Linked DNA regions of Homo sapiens: all the other regions are linked to region 5. The links are contacts of gene promoters, found by promoter capture Hi-C in blood cells and fetal thymus (Javierre and others, 2016). All regions are on one chromosome and are shown on one strand. Each heading gives the region's core, a stretch centred on a gene start or on the middle of the fragment in contact. The rest is flanking DNA. Distances are from core to core; before and after follow the strand shown.

Evidence for each region. The method cuts DNA at HindIII sites, captures the fragments that hold promoters and counts their contacts. A CHiCAGO score of 5 or more calls a contact.
Region 1: a fragment that was not itself captured here is called in contact with the fragment with the promoter of FOXD2-AS1 in region 5 in 13 of 17 cell types (total CD8 T cells, naive CD4 T cells, naive CD8 T cells and 10 more); the score reaches 9.6 in total CD8 T cells.
Region 2: a fragment that was not itself captured here is called in contact with the fragment with the promoter of FOXD2-AS1 in region 5 in 2 of 17 cell types (total B cells and naive B cells); the score reaches 5.9 in total B cells.
Region 3: a contact is called between a fragment that was not itself captured here and the fragment with the promoter of FOXD2-AS1 in region 5, in 8 of 17 cell types (naive CD4 T cells, total CD8 T cells, naive B cells and 5 more). The highest score is 12.8, in naive CD4 T cells.
Region 4: a contact is called between a fragment that was not itself captured here and the fragment with the promoter of FOXD2-AS1 in region 5, in 1 of 17 cell types (total CD8 T cells). The highest score is 6.1, in total CD8 T cells.

The regions. Positions count from the first base shown.
Region 1 is chr1:47,684,011-47,686,710 of GRCh38, forward strand. No RefSeq gene overlaps it. Among named protein-coding and RNA genes, the nearest start is that of LINC01738, 3.1 kb to the right of the region's middle. The HindIII fragment of the contact is 817 bases long and covers 858-1,674 here.
Region 2 is chr1:47,249,062-47,251,761 of GRCh38, forward strand. It overlaps STIL (STIL centriolar assembly protein), which reads right to left. Exons shown (of 17, transcript NM_001048166.1): 17 at 1,078-2,700. The coding sequence ends at 2,075. Among named protein-coding and RNA genes, the nearest start is that of TAL1, 18 kb to the left of the region's middle. The HindIII fragment of the contact is 4,333 bases long and covers 1-2,700 here.
Region 3 is chr1:47,191,731-47,194,430 of GRCh38, forward strand. No RefSeq gene overlaps it. Among named protein-coding and RNA genes, the nearest start is that of PDZK1IP1, 3.0 kb to the left of the region's middle. RefSeq lists an enhancer at 1-660. The HindIII fragment of the contact is 810 bases long and covers 904-1,713 here.
Region 4 is chr1:47,652,921-47,655,620 of GRCh38, forward strand. No RefSeq gene overlaps it. Among named protein-coding and RNA genes, the nearest start is that of LINC01738, 34 kb to the right of the region's middle. The HindIII fragment of the contact is 198 bases long and covers 1,319-1,516 here.
Region 5 is chr1:47,433,229-47,435,983 of GRCh38, forward strand. It overlaps FOXD2-AS1 (FOXD2 adjacent opposite strand RNA 1), which reads right to left and starts at 1,413. Exons shown (of 1, transcript NR_026878.1): 1 at 1-1,413. The region is part of intron 1 of LINC01389 (long intergenic non-protein coding RNA 1389); the gene reads right to left. RefSeq lists an enhancer at 898-1,413. The HindIII fragment of the contact is 12,098 bases long and covers 1-2,539 here.

The DNA of each region.
Region 1 (2,700 bases), core at 16-2,515, 250 kb after region 5:
TAGTGAGGTCTCTGCCCCCAGAGGTGTGCAAACAGTGGGTGGATGGGCTACCTCTGAGAGGCTGCAGGGCAGGTCCCTGCCCCGGGAGCAGTTCTGTTAGACTCCCTTTAAGGTCCTTTACAACTCTAAGATTCTGAGACTAAATCATCATTGAGAATCTGTCTTGTGCTGGATGCCGTGGAGGTGAAAAGAGAAAAGAGACAGGACCCCAGCCCCCAAAGTGCTCTCATTCAGGTGGGCAAGACAGACAGGACATTGTCATTTATAATTGAGTGGCAACTGTCATGATTGGGGGTAGTGAAAGTACTGAGGGCTGTGAAAGCCTAGAGGAAGGGGCCACCTTGCACCATGACCACAAGCATGTCCTTGGGGCTGGTGATGGTGGCCCTTAGAACAGCACTATCCAATAGAACTCTCTACAGAGATGGAAATGTGTTATATCTGTGCTGTTCAATATGGTAGCCCTTGAATTGTGGCTGGTTGGACTGAATTTTACATTTTACTTAATTTAATAGCTGTATGTGGCAAGTGCCTACTATATTGGGCAGCACAGACAGAAGACATTTCTACCATTGCAGAAAGTTCTATTGGACATCACTGCTCTAACGAGTTAAAATAGGCAGCTCTGTGATCCCAAGGCGCCTTCCTTTCCTCCCCTCACCGTGTCAGTACCACAGAGAGTGAGGCCTGCAGACACGGGTGTCAGAGCACCGCACGGGCCAGCTTCCTGTGTGACACTGAATCAATCCCTCCACCTCTCTGGGCTACAGCATCAATAAAATGAGGCATCAAACTATAAGGCTTTACAAAATAATAACAATAAAGACTCTGAGGGTCTAGAACTAGGAGAAAAAGGAAGCTTCACTTTTTCTCCTTGTTCTTCCCTTTCCCCTCTATTGACCCCAACCTTCCACCACCCAGACCACAGCTCCCAAAGACCCCAAGAACTTTTGTATTTACCGCTTAGCACTTGCTATACGGGTCTATGACCTTCTTTAGAAACTTTTTCTTTACGAGTTTATTTTGGCTTGTGCTGAGCATTCATAAAATTCCTAGGGAACTGGAGGTTTAAACCTTGGGCTTGTAAAAGGAGTAGGTGGGAGGGAGTGGGAACCCGGCAGAGAAGGGAGAGGACTGCAGCCAGCCCTTGGAAGTTGGAAGACAAGACTAAGTTTTCCACTCTCCACTCAAGGCCTCGCCTTCTGTGAGTCCTGGGTCTTTTAGGTCATGAAAGGGGAGAAGAAGAGAAGGAGAAAGAGAAAGAGGGGTGGGGCGGGAGGTGGGTGGAAGGAATTAGAGGCATGAAGGGCTGGGATTTTCCCACTGAGTGAGCAGAGCAGGGCCCATTTCTGATAAGCGGTCTCTCTGTCTCCTCTTGGGTTTTTCTTGTCATTCATCTCTTCTCCAGCCAAGCTGCTCCTCAGCAGGTTGGAGGTGCTGGTGAATGGCTCAGAGAGCGCAGGGCATGTGAAACAAATTAGGTCTCTGTTACAGCCACCCAGAGGCGGGTGATGGATGGGGGCCTGTGTTCACGGCAAAGCTAATTGGCAACACACAGAGACATCCAAGAAAGTATATTATTTTGCCAGACTTCAGAGTCATTGGACTTTTTTTCTTATTGTAGAACATTATACAGCCAGAGATAAGCACAGTGAAAGTTTTAAATCTAATAAAAGCTTTTGACTGCGGAGTAAAAATAACATACACAGAGAAGTTTGATTTGGATTCAGGTTTTATTAATGTTCTTTCATTGCAAAATGTTTCCAATTATAAAACAATTCGGAGAGCTCTGCATTAATAAACTTGCCTGTCTTTCAGAAGGGCCAGAGATTTTGAAATGCCTGGTGGACAAACACACACATACACAAACACACATGCACAGTGTTACCAGAGGGTTATTACAACAATATCTAAAATGTTCCAAATTCAGACTTGTGTGGCTCAGACCTGGGTAGAAGTGAAAAACCTCATGACTGAGCTTAGAGAAAAAGCACCTGAAGTTTCCTTAGCATCACCTGTTCCAAGTACTCACAAATAATACTCAAACCCGGCTCAGATGTCACCAGCAGGGATCAGCAAAGACTAGCATATTCTAGGCCTCAGTTTCCCCATTTGTAAAATAAGGCTGTTAGGTTGAATAGTATCTGAGGATTTTAGGATAGCTCCAGGAAATCAGTGAAGGATCATTATTGATTGCCCCCAAATATTTCTTCCTCTTTGCTTTAGAAAAAGTTAACTAAATCTGAATTTGATCAGCAATGGGAAAAAGGACCAAATCATAGTTCTAACCTGACAAACCAGGAGCTGAAGCTTGTGCCAAGTTGTTTGTAAAGAATAACTAGTAGCATGACTAACTCCAAGTGGAAGTTTGCAGAATAACCAGCCATCTTCATAAAATAGGAGAGGGATATCAGATTGTTTTAAACCAGTAGTTTTCAAAGGAACTTCATGTTTGCAAAGTGACTGGTAAATTAATGTTTCTTGGTGAATTGCGGACAAGTTGTTTCTCAAATAACTGGCCATTTTCAATTCAAGTACTTGCTTAACTATATCCAACTGTTTTGTTTTCTGCCCCCACATAACTGAAGTTTTAACCCTGGGGAGGAAATACAATTCTAACTCCGGGCTTTTTTTAGGTGGCTTCAGCTGTTTGGTCCAAGAGGCCTGGCTGGTGTGGGTCAATGAAGAGGAGGTAATATC
Region 2 (2,700 bases), core at 201-2,700, 180 kb before region 5:
CAAATTTCAAAAAGGTACACACTATATGATTCCATTTATATAAAAGATTCTCAAAAGGCCAAAATTCTAGTGGTGGAGAACAAATCACTGGCTGCTGGGGGTTAGGGTTGGAGAGACCGTGTGTTTTAAAAGGGTAGCACTAGGGAGTTTGTGGTGATGGAATAGTTCTGTATGCTGACTATGGTAGTAGTTATGTGATTCTATAAAAGATAAAATTTCAGCCAGGCAGTGGCTCACGCCTATAACCAGCACTTCGGGAGGCCGAGGTGGGCAGATCACGAGGTCAGGAGTTTGAGGCCAGACTGGCCAACATGGTGAAACTCTGTCTCTACTAAAAATACAAAAATTAGCCAGGTGTGGTGGCATGCACCTGTAGTTCCAGCTACTTGGGAGGCTGAGGCAGGAGAATCACTAGAATCCGGGAAGCAGAGGTTGCAGTGAGCCAAGGTCGCACCACTGCACTCCAGCCTGGGCAACAGAGCAAGACTCCGTCTCAAAAGATAAAATTTCATGGCTGGGAGCGGTGGCCCATGCCTGTAATCCCAGAACTTTGGGAGGCAGAGTGGGCAGATTACTTGAGATCAGGAGTTTGAGACCAGCCTGGCCAACAAGGTGAAACCCCATCTCTACTGAAACTATAAAAATTAGCCAGGCGTGGTGGTGTATGCCTGTAATCCAAGCTACTCGGGAGGCTGAGGCACAAGAATCACTTGAACCCAGGAGATAGAAGATGCTGTGAGCCAAGATCACGCCACTGTACTCCATCCTGGGCAACAGAGCAAGACTCCATCTCGAAGAAGAAAAAAAAGATAAAATTTCATAAAGCTATATACCAAAAAGTAAATAAATGAGTGCATGTAAACACTTGTGAAACCTGATAGGTCTGTGGTTCAGTTATTAGCATTATAGCCAATGTCAATTGCTTGGTTTTGCTCATTTACTATGCTTATGTAAGATATTATCACTGGAGGACACTGGAAGAAGGGTATACGGGAACTCTCTGTATTATTTTTGTAATTTGGGGGCAGTCTAAGAGTTTTTTAAAAAGTGGAGAATAAACTATAACAGACAACAAAGGAAAATAGTCAATCTAGACATTTTATTAAGTTCTATTAAAAAATATTAAGACATCTGAAAAACTCAGAAAGTTTATAAAACACACTCATACTCAATAATTTTCTTATTCTTTGATAGCCAGTGTGACATGTTGAAGATGTTACACCAAAACCAACCCACCATACTGCAAAAAGCTGTATCTCGAGTTTAATCAACATGCATCCTAATTAAGGGGAAATACACTCTTGTATAAAAGAGTGTAAGTTTTTATTAAGTTGTTTTTAAAAATAACTTTTCCCTTAAACTTAGGAAGGGTTGATTTCGCTAATTTACCCAACACCATGATAACTTATGTTCTTTTAATGATATAGGATAAATGCAGAGATGCAACATGCTGGAACTTCTTAAAATATACAGTATAGCTGGGCGCAGTGGCTCACGCCTGTAATCCCAGCACTTTAGGAGGCCGAGGCGGGCGGATCACCTGAGGTCGGGAGTTTGAGACCAGCCTGACCAACATGGAGAAACCAGTCTCTACTAAAAATACAAAATTAGCCAGGCGTTGTGGCACATGCCTGTAATCCCAGCTACCTGGGAAGATGAAGCAGGAAAATCGCTTGAACCCAGGAGGCAGAGGTTGCAGTGATCTGAGATCCTGCCATTGCACTCCAGCCTGGGCTACAAGAGCAAAACTCCGTCTCAAAAAAAAAAGTACAGTATAAAAGAGCAGTTGAGACTTAGAGCTGGATAGTATCTGTCTACTACTTAAACTTGTAGGAATAACTGATCTCAGGGCTTTTCTTAAAGGTTTCAGTGATGTTGAACAGCTCTATTTGAACAATGAGAACTTAGTCCTATCACCAGCCAGCCATCTCACAGAAGTCACTCTTCCCAATTGGCTGCTACCAAGAAACAGTGACTCCAGAATGATCAGGAGCCTTGTGGTAGGCTCCTGTTTTCCCTAAGTATCTTCAGGAGACACCCTGTCCCTGTATTAAAAGGGCAGGGAGTTAAAAGGTTAAAATAATTTTGGTAACTGTCTGAGACGTTTTACATCTAAGAAGGTGCCTACTGAATTCATGCTATTCATCTGCTTTAGCGTTTCAGAAGGTTGCAAACTTTCAGGAAAAATTGTAATGTCCCCTTCATTTTCTTTCTCAGGATGTTGAGTGAACTCTGCTTTCCCGGTTCGAAGGTTCACTGCAGGACTTGGTTTAAGGTTCTTTACTAAGAAAGCTGGCTTTTCAGTCAACTGCTGTTTTGCTTTTGTCTGCAAAACTTCATTTGTAATATTTCTCAATACTGGCGTATCTGCGTTGGTCCCCACAGATTCACAGTTAGAACAATTAATTATTTCATGGTCATTCTTAGAAGGCTCTTTCTGACCACCAAGCTGTTCAGGTATGGACCTAAGGTTCTGATTCAATAAATATTCACTCTTGCTATCTGCATTGTCGGGAGGTTCCTCTTCATCTTCACTATTGTCACTGCTTTGTAGGAGTCCATATCTCTTCATATATTTTTTGGTTGCAAATGACATGTTGTTTGGTGAAATTAAACTAAGCCCCACTGTGCTTCTGTCTGTATTAATATGGAGAAGGCTGAATGGGTCACAATTATTTTGGTTCGATCGAGTGACAGACA
Region 3 (2,700 bases), core at 59-2,558, 240 kb before region 5:
TAGGGAGGAGAGTCACATGGTTAGTTTTGCGTTTGGGAAAACACCTCTCCATGCAGTGTGGAGAGTGAAAGGGGCATGCAAAGGCTGGAGAAGAGAAATCCAGGGATCTGCTACAGTGGCCACAACACCAGTGCCTGGACCTGGGCAGGAAGTGCCCATGGGAACAGATCTGAGCCCTGTTGAGGAGGTAGAGAAGCCGGGGTGTGGCTGCTGGAACACAGTGCCAAGCTGGGAGAATGGGTACAGGCAGGAGGCAGGGCTTCAGGTGACTCCCAGGTTTCTGGCGTAGGCAGCTGGGTAGATGCTAGTGCCTCAGTAGGGGCCAGAGCAAGTTTGGGGGGTTGGAGGATTAATGAGCTATAGATTTTGAGGTATTATGCTTGCAGTGCCTGTGGACTTTCCAGAGGGAGACATCTGGAAGGCTGCAAAATCCCTGCATCTGGAGTGGAACATCTGGGAGCCGTCTGCAGCACAGGGATGGTAACTGAGGCCTGGGAGCTCATGGTCTCCCCAGTGTGTGTAGCGGGGGTAGGGGTGTTGAGGGGAGAGCACAGAAAGAAGGAGACACGCCCCCAACACACAAAGGTCTTTCAAAGGAAGAAGGGGCAGGAGGAAACAGGAGGAAGCAACCCCAGGAAAGTGGGGTATCCCAGGAGCCAAGCAAGGACAGACTTAAGGAGGGTGGGGGGGTCACAGCTGTGCCACCCCCTCCAACCAGTGCCCTCAGCACTCAAGTCCCAGGTTCTGCCTTCCCCACCCCAGTATCCTCCACTTCCCTGAAAAACCCAGGGAAAGGAAAGGATCCCCTGGGCTATGCTTTGGGAGTGGTGGGGGAAGGGGATGAACAGGAAGGACACCAGGTGATCAACAGGAGGAAAACATACCTCCTGGGTCAAAGTCCCAAGCTTTAGAGCAAAACAAGTTGTTCCAGAAAAGAGGGAGCATGGGTGGACACTTGGCTTTGAGGCTGGTCCCTCCTCCCTGGAGGTCTTCACACGGGTGGAGGGTCATCTCCCCAGCTGTATGGACACAGCCCTGATCCCCATGGTAACAAGGTGGGCCCCCCTACTGGTCTGGCTGGGGCCCAGGGTCTGGACTAAGGTCTCAGCAGCCCCACAGGGCTGCACCGTGTGTCCTGAGCAGCTGTTCCATCGACGTTCAGTTCCTCCTTCCTGTTCCAGCCCAGCTGTCACGCAAAACCATCAGGCCCCTTAGACAAGCCCTCCATCCAGCCAGACCTTATGCGATTGCCCTTCAGAAAAGCCAAAGTGGGCCTGGACTGTTTCCAGCAGTCTCCTTCCTCCCAACCCCATCTTGTCAGCCATTCCACTCACTGCCAGCAGGTGGCAGTGTCTAGCTCCAATACCAGACTGGGCGTGCAGGGAGCCAGTTTGCTGCTGAAGATTCTGCAACTTCCCCTCCCTCCAGCCCCCACTTTTGCCCTCCTCCAGGGGTGGTCTGAAGAAAGGGACGGTGGACATTGACATGTAAATAGTCTGGGAACAGCATACAGGGAGTGCTCAGGGCTCTGACATAGGGCAGCGTGGTGGACTACATTGCTAAGGAAGGCATCCTGGAGGAGGTAATGCAGGCAAAGTTAGCCAGAGTGTTGTACTCGGCAGACAGTCTGGGGAGAGGAATCCAGGCAAAGAGCTTAGCCTGAGAAAAAGTACAGAGAACATTCAAGAAGGGTGTTTAGAACACAAATATAAAAGCTTTCTTTTTTTCCCTCTCAGTGTCTCTCTCTGTCACCCAGGCTGGAGTGCAGTGGTTCAATCTTGGCTCACTGCAACCTCCGCCTCCTGGGTTCAAGCGATTCTCTTGCCTCAGCCTCCTGAGTAGCTGGGATCACAGGCGCCCACCACCACACCAAGCTAATTTTTGTATTTTCAGTAGAGACGAGGTTTCACTATGTTGGCCAGGGTGGCCTCAAACTCCTGACCTGAAGTGATCAGCCCGCCTCGGCCTCCCAAAGTGCTGGGATAACAGGCGTGAGCCACCGCGCCCAGCTCTTTACTAATTCTTATAATACTTCATCTTGTTAATATCATTGCTGTAAGCCAGAGAGCTCCTGGAGACCTTGTTTTATTCTTTCAAACGTATCTTGCTTAAACCCTTTTATGGCATTCATCAGCCCTTAAAATAATATGCAAACTTCTTTGCATGGGTTTGAGGGCACAGGCAATCTTCCTTACCCACCACTCCAGCTTGGTCTGGCCCCGGAGCCTCCTGTCACTTCCTAACAAAAGCCAAGCTCTTTCCCACATCAGAGACTTCTCTCCACTTGCTCTTTTCTCTGCCTGGAACACTCTTCCACTCCTATTTGCCCAGCAAACTGATCTTCCTTTACATCCCTTTCTTCAAGAATACTTCTTTACTTCCCTTCTCTCCCATCTGAAGTCACTCCCTTCTATGAGTCTCCTTTGCTCATCTCCTCACAGCCATGATCACAAGTTGCAATTACACACTGATTTGTATGTTTACTCATTTAATAACTGTCTCCATGGAGGGAAGGTATCATGTCTATCTCTCCCTCAGCAGCCAGTACTGAGCACAGTGCCTGAGTACACACTCGACACACATTTTATGAAATTAAATGTCAGTATATGCAGTGCCTACCACTGGCCTAACAAAGAGCAGAAGCTCAGAGAAAGGTTGTTCAATGAATAAAACATTTTAGCTGTAGTTGAGTCCTTGTCT
Region 4 (2,700 bases), core at 168-2,667, 220 kb after region 5:
ACTAAGGGAACCAGGGAGCACAGTCCAGCAGGAGAGACCAACGGGATGCACAGGGAGTGCTGCTGTTCCTTCTGCCTACAGTGCTTTCTCCCACTACCTTCCTCCAGGGAACTCCTACTCATCCTTCAAAACCCGGCTTCAACTGTGCGCCTGCTCTGGAGGCTTTTTTTTTTTTTTTTTTTTTTTTTGAGACAGTCTCACTCTTTCGCCAGGCTGGAGTTCTGTGGCCCAATCTCTGCTCACTGCAACCTCCAACTCCCTGGTTCAAGCGATTCTCCTGCCTCAGCCTCCGAGTAGCTGGGATTACAGGCAAGTGACACTATGCCCAGCTAATTTTTGTATTTTTAGTAGAGATGGGATTTCACTATGTTGGCCAGGCTGGTCTTGATCTTCTGACCTCATGGTCTGCCCACCTTGGCCTCCCAGTGCTGGGATTACCAGGTGAGCCACTGCGCCCCGCCCTCTGGAGGTCTTTTTGGATCCTCTTCCAAGGCTGAGTTACTTGTTATGTCCTCTGTGATTGTACAGAGCACATCCCGTACTATTTTGTAATTATTGGTTTAATGTATTGCTCCTTGAAAGTGGCGAACATTTCTGTATTTGTTTCCTAGAAATGCCATAACAAAATACCACAAATTGGGTGGCTTAAAACAACAGAAATTTATTCTGTCACAGTTCTGGAGTCTAGACGTCTGAGATTAACATGTCGGCAGGGCCGTGCTCCCTCTCAAGCTTCTCGGGGAGAAGCCTCTTTCAGCTTCTGGTGGCCCCAGGCATTCCTTGGATTTTGGCAGCACCTCTGCCTCTGTGCGTTTGTATCTCTTCTTATACTGACACCACCCTACTCCACTATGGCCTCATTTAATGTTACTAATTATATCTGCAATGACTCTATTTCTAAACAAGGTCACATTTTGAGGTACTTGGGGTTAGGACTTCAACTTGTCTTTTTGAGGCACACAGTTCAGCCCATCACAATCTCTCATTCATGATTATATTCCCAACATCTGGCACAACCCTTGGCTTGGAGCAGGTGCTCAGATCACATCGAACAAACGAACACTTTCCTAAATGATTAAACAATTATATAAAATACAATAGCAAGATATGTAAGCCCCAGTGAAAGACAGAAGTGAGTGTTCCATGCACCCAGTGGGAGGGGGGCTCATTCCACCTGGGGCTTCTGGGATGGCACTTCCACGAGGCTTTGAGGAATAAGTAGAGGTTCAACTCATGCAAAAGTTGAGACAAGGCACAAAAGGACCAAAATCATGGACACAAAGTGAGGACTATTCTCATTGACCTGAGGACCAGCTGAAGCTTGGACAGTAGACTTTATTTTGGGCCACACAGCTAGGAAGTGGCAGAAGTAGCACTGAGACCCGTGACAATCTGTCACTTTCTCTGTTATTATGTTTCTCTCTTGTGTTAAAAACAAGTTCCCTCTGTGGCCCCTGAAAGACCTGTGGCTCTTTTCTTGAAAGATCTTACTTGTCTTAAATAGGCAAGTCTCTGAAGCTTCTCTCCGAGACTTTTATAATTTATGTTGTTATTGTGGGTCTGTGGACAGATGTTAATTTTCACTTTGCAAGCCCATTTTTCAGATTGGCTTGTGGAAGCAGAGCGTGCTTTGGTGGCTGGTCCTTTCAGATCACCATGGAGTGTAGGGAACTGGACAGGCCATAGAGAGTGGCTACTTACCTGCTCCCACAAAATACCTCACATCCAATAATTCCTCTGGCATTTCTTTTAAAGCATATATTCAGGGGAATATGGCAGGCATGGAAAGCCCGCCCATTAACCTCTTTCTCTGCATCAAAGTCTTATGAGTGATTAACCCCACCAATGAAGCCTATCCATGGGGTTGTGTGAAGGGAAGAACTGGGTCCCAAATGACAAGCAGCCAAGAGTGGGGGTGTACAACCTGAACCCCAAAGACACATCCTGGGTTTGAATCTTGGTTTGGCCATTCATTAGCCAAAGGCTGTGCCTCAGTTTACCATCTGTCAGTGAGAATTATGGTGGCATCCACCCCATGAGGATTTTTGTGAGAATAAAATGAGTTGGTAGATGTGAAGTGCTCAGAGCAGCACCTGTTACAGAGCAGGCACAGACAGAAGTGGTAGCTGTTGCTATTGTTATTGTAATGAATAGAGCTTCATGTATGGAGTGCGGAGAGAACTGGGTTGGAAGGTTTGGGTTTCTAACATATTATCTATGATGATAGTAACTTTGGCTAAAGACGTTTAGCAAAATCCAGCATTATATCAACATCATTTTCATTGCACAAGAAGGCTGCTGCATGCTGGAAGGAGCTATTGAGAGAGAGTGGGAGGACAGTGTTTCAAGGCAGAATCTTAGTGAACGAATGCCTTGAGGCAGCAGGGTGAGGGTGCTTAGGGCTGGGAGAAAACCAGAGACTTAGGAAGCAATCATGAAACACAGACGAAACTAGAGAAAACATCAGTTTGTGCCTATTCCACATATTTATTTCAGTCTTGCTCATTTAAAAAATCTTGCTTTATATATATGTATAACTGAGATTAATCTTATCTTTTAAAATATGCTGTTATTTGAGTCCAAAAAATGGCCCATAACCAGCCTCTGGGGAAAACCAGAGGACTCTTTAAGGACAGCTTTTTCTTCATCAACCCCACATGAAGTCAGCTTCCAGATGCCTGAGTCCCCCTTTCCAGCCGC
Region 5 (2,755 bases), core at 163-2,662:
GGTCGCAATCCGCCATACAGAGCCACTGTTGTCCAGAGGACAGACACATGAGGACAGAGAAAGAGAGGCTCGGCCCAGCTGGCCGAGAAACCCACAAGAGCGCACTTAGACATGAAGTTCTCCTTCCCACATACCTGGAAGCGTCCCCCACTGCCCCTGGCCGCCTCTGCTCTCAAGAGCGTGGAGCCTTCCCTACCACTCCGGGAACTCTGTGATCTTCAGGACCGGCGGGTTTCAAGTGGCGCTGTTTTCGGTCTCTCCTGAGGTCGCAACCCTCTTCCCACGAACAACAGCCCACAGGCTCCGCAGCTCGCCTTGGTCTCAACAACCGCGCAGTACTTGGGTGCTTAAGCGAGTCCCCTACCACATAGTCCAGGGTTGGGGGCGGGGGAGATGGGGCTGGGAGGGGACAGTGGCCAGGAGTAGCGGAAAGAGAAGATGTAAATTCACTCTCGAACTTTGCCCGGCAGACGCGTGGTGGTTATCTCCGCGCCAGCGCCTGAAGTGGGCAGGTGGGCTTCAGAGTTGAAGGTGCACACACTGGAGCCCCAGTCATTTCTGTGCATGGGGAACATGTCTGAGGTCTGCCTCCGCGGGTCACAGGATCTGGAGTCTCCCGCCTCCCACCTGGGCTAAGGGAGCTGATCGCTTCTGAGCAGCCGAAGATCCGGGTGGAGAAAGGGGCCGGGAGCTGTACCGGCTGAGGCTAGACAGCTATCTCGCTTTGGAGCTGCAGCTAGGTCCAGAGTGGGAAGGAGGCTCGCGCCGGCTTTGCCGCTTTCCCTGAGGGTGTCCAGTTTTGTGAATAAAATTAGAGAAATCTGCGGGCGTAGTTCCCCAAGCCCAGCTCAGGCTTCCGTTTGCAGCCCGGCGCTGGCCGAGCTCGAACCGCTGAAAAGGGCCGCGTGCAATCGTTCCGCTGTGCCTCAGGACAAACTCCGCTTCAAGCCAGTGCCGCTCTCCGGCAGTTTCCTGATTGACTTAATTAGATCCGCATAATCGCTGGAGGGCTTTTCTTTCCCAGAGCCGAGAACAGCTCATTTATGGGGACCAAAAGGAAGAGAGGGAGAGACGACCCGGACGCCACTGATAGCAACGTACTCTTCGCAAAAAACACTCAGTAACTAGTGGAAAAGCCCAACAGGCATCCCCCTCCGCCCGCCAACGCTTCCTCCCAATTGTTCTGGGCTGCACGAGGGAGATGGCCGGGCCGTGGAACAGATGCAGAAGGAGGCCCGGCACGACCAGAGACGCTGTAACCAAGACCCGCAGAGCCTGTGGCTTCCCGCTCTTTGGCGGCTGCAGCAGGCATGGTGCTGGAGCCCAAGGCTTCTGGGAAAGAGTCCAGGTTTTCGCGGAGGGAGCGACGGACTCACGCGGGATCGCAGGCACTGCTGCAAGACGCCGAACAGGCTGAGCCGGTAGGCGAAAGAAGTAAGGGTCACAGAAGAAGCAAAGAAAACGAAATAAATTCCGAATCCCGCGGTGGCCCTTCTCCCAGTCCCCAGTGCACTTACTCCTGACACTGTTGAAAACAAACTGGCCCAGAACCTTGGAAGGGAGGAGAGGCTACTAGAAATCCCTCTATACAGAGAGGAGCTCGGTTAGAGAAACAGCTATTTGGATAAACAGAGGGGTTCTGGGCTAGGAACCCGGACACGTAGGTCCAACCCAGCTTAGCGCCCCTCAAAAGCCTGACAAGTAACATGATCTCCTGGACCTCAGTTTCCGCTCCTGTAAAAAGTATGTATGTGAAGGGTCTGGATTCTCCCTCCCCAACCCTGCAGAGCAGAAGCTGGGGATTCTGTACTCCCCTTCCCCAGTGTAGGTCTCAGTAGCAGTGAACGTGCAGCAAGGCCAGGCAGAGGCAAGGGCTGGCTGCTGTAGCTGCTTGGTAGAACTTCTCTGAAGCAGGAAATTTGGGCAGCAAGTGCCCTGGCTAGTCTCACCCTGACCAAAGCCTGGGGAGCCAGGGGAGTGCTGGCAAGGAAGGAAGCTACTGGTTCCCATTTGCTGTTTTAGAAACGAGGACATTCAGGCCGGGCAGGGTGGCTCACGCCTGTAGTCCCAGCACTTTGGGAGGCCGAGGCGGGTGGATCACCTGAGGTAGGGAGTTTGAGACCAGCCTGACCAACATGGAGAAACCTCCTCTCTACTAAAAACACAAAATTAGCCGGGCATGTTGGTGCCTGCCTGTAATCCCAGCTATTTGGGAGGCTGAGGCAGGAGAATCATTTGAACCTGGGAGGCTGAGGTTGTGGTGAGCTGCTGAGATCAGGCCATTTTACTCCAGCAGGGGGGCAACAAGAGCGAAACTCAGTCAAAAAAAAAAAAAAAAAAAAAAAAGAAAAGAAAAAAAAGAAATGAGGACATTCAGAAGGTGAAATGGAGTAGGATGACGCCAACACTGTTTTTCTCTCCACTTGTTTAGATACTAGCAGAGTTGAGCTGGGTTGGAGTTGGTGTGTGGTCCATGGTGTGGGGTATCTGTGAGTGGGGTTCTGGGAGTGTGAGACAGATATCCATGTAGTCAAGAGCAAGCTTGAGGTATGTGTAGGGTTGCCAGATAAAATAAATCTGCTAAATCTAGCAACCCTAGGTATGTGAGTTTCCTTGGACTCATGCAAGAAGCTTCTCTCCAAGACCTTTTTCCCCGGACAGTCTGTCACCCAGGAAATTCCAATTCCAGGGCTACTAGTCCCTGTCCAATTTGCTGTCCATGGTTTGAGGACGAGATTTCTCTTTTTTCCAATGA